Regions from separate parts of the Homo sapiens genome. Here region 1 is linked to region 2. Evidence: promoter capture Hi-C in 16 types of primary human blood cells and fetal thymus (Javierre and others, 2016). All regions are on one chromosome and are shown on one strand. The core of a region is centred on a gene start or on the middle of the fragment in contact, and the rest is flanking DNA. Distances in the headings are between cores, read along the strand shown. Region 1 has its middle 23 kb from the start of LYPD4. Region 2 holds the start of ATP1A3 (ATPase Na+/K+ transporting subunit alpha 3).

Region 1 (3,428 bases), core at 839-3,338, 170 kb after region 2:
ATAGCTGGGGACTTCGACACCCCACTGTCAATAATGGACAGATCACCCAGACAGAAAATCAACAAAGAAACATTGGAGTTAAACTACATTTTAGACCAAACAGGCCTGATATTTACAGAACATTTCACCCAACTGCTGCAGAATAGATATTCTTTCCATCAGCACATGGAACATTCTCCAGAGTAGACTATATCTTAGGCCACAAACCAAGTCTCAATAAATTCAAAAAAGTAGGAATCTTATTAAGTATCTTTTCTTTTTTTAAAAGAGATAGGGTCTTACTCTGTTGCCCAGGCTGGAGTGCAGTGGTGAGATCATAGTTCACTGCAGCCTCCAACTCCTGGGCTCAAATGATCCTCCTCGCTCAGCCCCCCAGATAGCTGGGGTTACAGGAGTGCCCCACAATGCCCAGCTAATTTTTTTTTTTACTTTTGTGGAGATGGAATCTCACTATGTTGTTCAGGCTGGTCTTGAACTCCTGGCCTCAAGTGATCTTCCCATCTTGGCTTCCCAAAGTGTTGAGATTATAGGCGTGAGCCACCAGGCAGGGCGTAAGTATATTTTTCTTACCACAGGGGTATAAAACTAGAAATTAATAATGAGAGGAATCCCAGAAAACACACCAGCACATGGAAATTAAACAACATACTACTGAGCCACCAATGGGTAAATGAAGAAATTAATAAGGAAATAAAAAATTTCTCCAGCCTCAGCCTCCTAGGTAGCTGGGATTATAGGTGCACACCACCACACCCAGCACATTTTTGTGTTTTTAGTAGAAATGGGGTTTCACCATGTTGGCCAGGCTGGTCTCGAACTCCTGACATCAGGTAATCCACCTGCTTCGGCCTCCCAGAGTATTGGGAGCATTTTTCTTTTTTCTTTTTTTTGAGACAGAGTCTTGCTGTGTTGCCCAGGGTGGAGTACAGTGGCGCCATCTTGGCTCACTACAAACTCGGCCTCCCATGTTCAAGCAATTCTCTTGCCTCACCCTCTTGAGTAGCTGGGGTTACAGGCATGCACCACCGTGCCTGGCTAATTTTTGTATTTTAGTACAGATGGGATTGGCCAGGTTGGTCAGTGTAGTTTAACTCCTGGCCTCAAGTGATCCACCCACTGTGGCCTCCCAAAGTGCTGAAATTACAGGCGCGAGCCACTGCGAATGGCCTATATTTCTACTTCTGTGAAGAATGCCATTGAAATATTGCTAGAGACTGAGTTGAATTTGTAGTTCATCATGGTTAGTATGGACATTTTAACAATATTAATTCTTCCAGTCCATGAACACAGTACATTTTTTATTTTTTCAGAGACGGGGGTCTCACTATATTGAGCAGGTTGGTCTCAAACTCCTGGACTCAAGTGATCCTCTCACTTCATTCTCCTGAATAACTGAGACTATAGTCATGCAGCACTATGCCCGACACATTTTTTTTTTTTTTTTTGAGACGGAGTCTTGCTTTGTCGCCCAGGCTGGAGTGCAATGGCCCGATCTCGGCTCACTGCAAGCTCCGCCTCCCGGGTTCACGCCATTCTCCTGCCTCAGCCTCCCGAGTAGCTGGGACTACAGGCTCCCGCCACCACGCCCGGCTAATTTTTTGTATTTTTAGTAGAGACGGGGTTTCACCGTGTTATCCAGGATGGTCTCGATCTCCTGACCCCGTGATCCGTCCGCCTCGGCCTCCCAGAGTGCTGGGATTACAGGCATGAGCCACCGCGCCCGGCACATTTTTCATTTCATATTGTACTTCTCAGCTTCAAGGTTTCTGTTTGTTTCTTATTATTTTACTTTCGCTGTTACATTTCTCTGACAAACGTCTGAATTGTTTCTCTATGTTTTCTTTAAGTTCTCTGAGTTTTCTTAAAACAGCCGTTTTGAATTCTTTGCCTGCCAGACCATTCATTTGCATGTTTTTAGGATAATTCATTGGCATTTTGTTCTGTCTATTTGACGAGGCACGTTCCTAGGCTATTCTTATTCCTAGATCTGCGTCTCTATCTATGCATTGGTGAATTAGGTGTTTATTACGGTCTTTACAGCCTGAGTTTGTTTGTGACCATTCTATTTCAGTGGGCTTATTTAGAAATTGTGAGTGGACTGACTGTTGTCTTCCATTTCAACACTAGGGGGTACCCTAAGCCCAGGTTAGAGGCGAGTCTGGCACTAGCTTCACTGCTGATGAAATGTCGGACCTGGATGGGGCAGGTGGGAGAGCCACAGAGGGCACCTGGGCCCTGTGGAGAACCAGCCAGGCCCTCAAGGCCAGAGGATCTGTGGACCATGCTTCCTGCAGCATGGTTTCTGTAAACAGTGTCTTTGGTGCAGCATCTCCTCTGGCAGGGATGGAGAGCCACTGCCAAATTCCTTGCAGTGGCTGCCCAACCCCACCCCTTCTTTTTGTCTTTAACTGGCCTTAGGTACTTGCAGTGTTCTCTATGGGCCAATACAGGAGTGAGTCTTTTGTGGAGGGGCCCGGAATGATGGGGAATCTGTATGTCCACCCCTAGCTCAGTTTTTCCAGTGTAAAAATCATGGGTCCATGGGGAGTTTCCACGTGTGGTGCCATAATGGCTTGAGGGGAGGCATGTTGCAAGCACAGAGAACTGATCCCTTTACCTTCCAACCGTGGTTTTGCTTGTCTTTGTGGTCCAAGGGCGCTTCCCAGCTTCACTCGTGTGTTCGAGTTTTTTTTTTTTTTTTGGCTCTTGTGAAAGTAATTTTGTGTGTGGATAGTTGCTCAAATGGATGTTTCTGCTGGGAGATAATGGCTGGAGAGACTTACTCTGCTGTCTTTCTCATCTTCTGTCATTTAACATCATTCCTTAAAAATTTTTTTGTTTTTGAGATAGGGGTTGCTCTGTCACCCAGGCTGGAATGCAGTGGCACCATCTCCACTTACTGCAACCTCCTCCTTTCAGGTTCAGGTGATTCTCCTGCCTCAGCCTCCTGAGTAGCTGGGACTACAGGTGCAGGCCAGCACACTCGACTATTTTTTTTTTTTTTTTTGTATTTTTGGTAGAGATGGTGTTTCACCATGTTGGCCAGGCTGGTCTCGAACTCCTCACCTCAAGTTATCTGCCCAACTTGGCCGCTCAAAGTGCTGGGATTACAGGTGTGAGCCACCATGCCTGGTTGCACTTTCAATGGTGTAAGACTGAATGTTTTCCCTCTAATACTAAGAAAAGGGCAAGGGTGCCCACTCTCATCATCCTTATTCAATATACTACTGGAAGTTTCAGCACTGGAATAAGGCAAGAAAAGGAAATAAATACATATGGACTAGAAAGTAAGAAATAGGGCCAGGTGCGGTGGCTCACAGCTGTAATCCCAGCACTTTGGGAGGCTGAAGCGGGCAGATCACCTGAGGTCAGGAGTTCAAGACCAGCCTGGCCAACAAGGCGAAACCCTGTCTCTACTAAAAATACAA
Region 2 (3,259 bases), core at 115-2,614:
CTGTGACGAGCTCTGTGTGTCATGTGGGTGAGGGCGTTGGGGTGTGTTTGGAGGTGCAACAAAGATGTCTGCGATAGTGCTGCAATAACGTGATGTGTGTATGTGTGGGAGGTGTGTGGGTGTCGCGTGACTTGTGTTTGAATTATTGTGCTATGTGTAAGTGTGTGCACCTTTTTGTCTGTCATTCACAGTTAGCATTGGCAACTTTGCACTGTGGGCCGTTGCTCATGCCCAAACACACTGGGGAGCAGTGTGTGTGAGGATGTGTGCGACATCGTGGGATCATGCAACGATGTCCACAAAGGCTGATGTAGTGTGTCTGGAGGCAGTGTGAGGCCTGTGCGTGTGTGATGGTGCTGAGTGCAGGTGTGTGTTGGTTTATGGGTTGCACGATGTGGGTTTCTATGTGAGATGGTGGGAGGTCAGGTGTGGTAGAGTGTGTGATGTGTGAGTCTGCGATTTTCTGAGTGTCGGTGTTAGTCCGCACAGCACTTTGTGGCTGTGATTATGAGTCTCTTGTGGTGTGATGGGTGTGTAAGGTGTGTGCCCTATGTGTGTTTCACTCTATGTTTGAGACTCTGTGTGTGGTGGGGTGGTGTTGTGTGTGTGAGGGTACATGCTGGCCTATGGTGGAATATGAGTGCAACCCTGTGGTGTGTGCGTGTCCCCAGCATCTGGGCTATCAGTGTGATGGTCCTGTGTAACTGTGACGCTGGGCATTTTCTGGGCCTCCTGGGGCCATCCTCCACCGTGTTGTGTCTCCCGTGTACCCTGTGTGGTTGTGGCTCATTGGATAGCTCAGGCGTAGTGGGGGGGCACCCACAGTGAGGGAATCTCAGGGCTCCTCCCGCCAGCACCCCTCCTCAATTGCAAGGCCTTTCTTGCTCTCTTGTGTTCCCTTCCAACTTCCCCTCCTGCAGGGCCCTCTCCCTGAACAGCACTACCCCCCGCCGTCTCCAGGGTCCCTGGTGCCACACTGCAGTGATTCACCGGGCTTCCCTCCCACCCCGTGTCACTACCCGCCCCCCCTCCCCCAGCGTACCCTTCTCGGTGATGGCACACCCCCACAATGAGAGGATTTCCGGGGTTTTCTTTCCCTGAGCGCCCCTTCTTGGAGGCCCTACTCCATATTGAGGGGGTCTCCAAGTCCCCTATTGCGGAGGTCTCTGGGAATCCCCCCACCCCCGCAGCGCTCCCCCTTCGCGGCCGCGCCGCCACTTTGCGGAGCCCAAGGGGAGGACAGCTGCAGTACCAGGGGCGGGGCCGCGGGCCGTCCGTCAGCACGGCGGCGCCCCTGATTGGCCAGCGCCGCCCCCCTCCCGCGGACGCGGGCATATGAGGAGGCGGAGGCGGCGGCCGCCGCAGCCTCTGTGCGGTGGGACCAACGGACGGACGGACGGACGCGCGCACCTACCGAGGCGCGGGCGCTGCAGAGGCTCCCAGCCCAAGCCTGAGCCTGAGCCCGCCCCGAGGTCCCCGCCCCGCCCGCCTGGCTCTCTCGCCGCGGAGCCGCCAAGATGGGGGTAGGTGCTGAGCCGGCTGGGCGCCGCTTCCGTGTGACATTGTGGGGCCGGTGACATTGGGTGTGCGCGGGGGGCGGGGGCACCGGGACCCCTGCGCTCCGGGGCCAGGCCTGCGAGACCCGGGGAGCCGGCTGACCCAGCCAATCCATGTGGTCGTGGGGCCGCAGGGGGCGGCGGGGGGTCTGTGGCGCACGTTGGCATGGCTTTGTGTGCGGAGATCCGCGAGGTTGTGGGCCAGCCCTCAGCATCTCCGCCTGACCTTGTGCGGTTGCATGTGCACAGTTGCATGTGCGTATGAGAGCTGCTGGCTCTGTCAGGCCCTGGCAGCGAGTGTGTGGGCCCCGTGGTGTCTGAAAGTCTGCGATCGCGTCTGGGTGTGTCTGTGAGAGCTCGTGTTAGTGCGTCTGGGGTTATTGAGGCCCCCCTGCTTCCCTGGCAGGGTGCGGATAGGTCCACGTTGTGGGATGGACACCAGATGACCTCTCTTTCTCCTTCCAGGCCTGGATGGGGGGACTCCGCAGTGTGTGTGTGTGTGTGTGTGTGTGTGTGTGTGTGTGTGTGTGTGTGTGCAGGCTCCGCAGTGTCGCAGCCTGGGGCTGCAGTGTGTGTGTGTGCAGCCCCTCATGTAGGGGAGCAGGCATGGGAGGCTGGGAGGAGGAGAGGAACAGGAGAGCCACGGTGGGGAGACTGAGTGCACAGCTGAGGGTGTGCGTGTGCAACTGTGTAGTGGGGAGCGTGCATGCCTGGCTGTGTCCTTGCCTCTGTGTCCGTGTGTCCTTGTCTGTCTGTGAGTCTCTCCAGCAGATGCCGCCTCCCTCCCTGGCTGACCACCTGACCCTTGCTGCAGCCCTGGATTCCTCCCTGTGTGTCTGGGGCGGGGCTGAAGGGAGGGGGAATCAGGAGAGGAGGGGGTGGGTGGGGGTAGGTGGGATGAAGAGGGCGGGAGAGGCCAGTGGAGGGAGAATAGGAGGGCTGGGGAGAAAGATGGCGGATAAAGGCTGATGGGCCCAGGGATGGAGGTGGGGGATGGGGCTGCAGATCTGTGGGGTGGGGCAGGGTGGGCCGGGGGGCTGGGAAGGAGGATTGGGTTGGGGCAGGACTAGGGGAGAGAAGGGAGAAAGGGGTAGTCAGTGATGGCTGTCAGGTAAGTGGGATGGAGGGAGGGAAGCTGTGGATGGATTGGGAGAAGACTGATGCTAAAAGCCCTAGAGAAGGAAGTTAGAGGGAGGTGGTCTTAGGAAACGGAGTGGGGACGAGAGGAGAAATGAAGGCAGCTTAGACATGGGAAGGAAAGACAGAGACACATGGAAAGACAGAGATGCTCTGAAAGAGACAGAGAAAGAGACATGGACATAGAGACAAAGAGACAGAGACAAGCAGAGAGACATGGCTGAGACACATGGAGAGACATTGAGAGAGAAAATGAGAAACTGAGGCTCAGAGGAAGAGACACAAGGACAGATATTTCCTATCTAGCGGCAACCACAGTCAGCCTGAGGGACAGGAAGAGGAGGCAGAGGGCAAAGGGGGAGGTCAAGGGAGGGATGGTCAGAGATGTGGGCCAGGTCCCCTGCGAGGGGGAAGGGAGGCCGGCCCAGGCGCAGAGGCTGCGGGAGCTGGCACCAGATCAGGGAGAGGCGGACAGCATGGAAAATGGCAAGGAGCTGCAGAGGCGGCCACAGCGAGACAGGCATGGTCCCCACCCTTGGAGGTGCTCCCACCCCGCAGCGCGCCCA

Evidence for each region. The method cuts DNA at HindIII sites, captures the fragments that hold promoters and counts their contacts. A CHiCAGO score of 5 or more calls a contact.
Region 1: a fragment that was not itself captured here is called in contact with the fragment with the promoter of ATP1A3 in region 2 in 2 of 17 cell types (non-activated CD4 T cells and activated CD4 T cells); the score reaches 5.7 in non-activated CD4 T cells.

The regions. Positions count from the first base shown.
Region 1 is chr19:41,820,018-41,823,445 of GRCh38, reverse strand. No RefSeq gene overlaps it. Among named protein-coding and RNA genes, the nearest start is that of LYPD4, 23 kb to the left of the region's middle. The HindIII fragment of the contact is 5,205 bases long and covers 1-3,428 here.
Region 2 is chr19:41,992,335-41,995,593 of GRCh38, reverse strand. It overlaps ATP1A3 (ATPase Na+/K+ transporting subunit alpha 3), which reads left to right and starts at 1,364. Exons shown (of 23, transcript NM_152296.5): 1 at 1,364-1,523. The coding sequence starts at 1,518. RefSeq lists a silencer at 1,191-1,630. The HindIII fragment of the contact is 18,418 bases long and covers 1-3,259 here.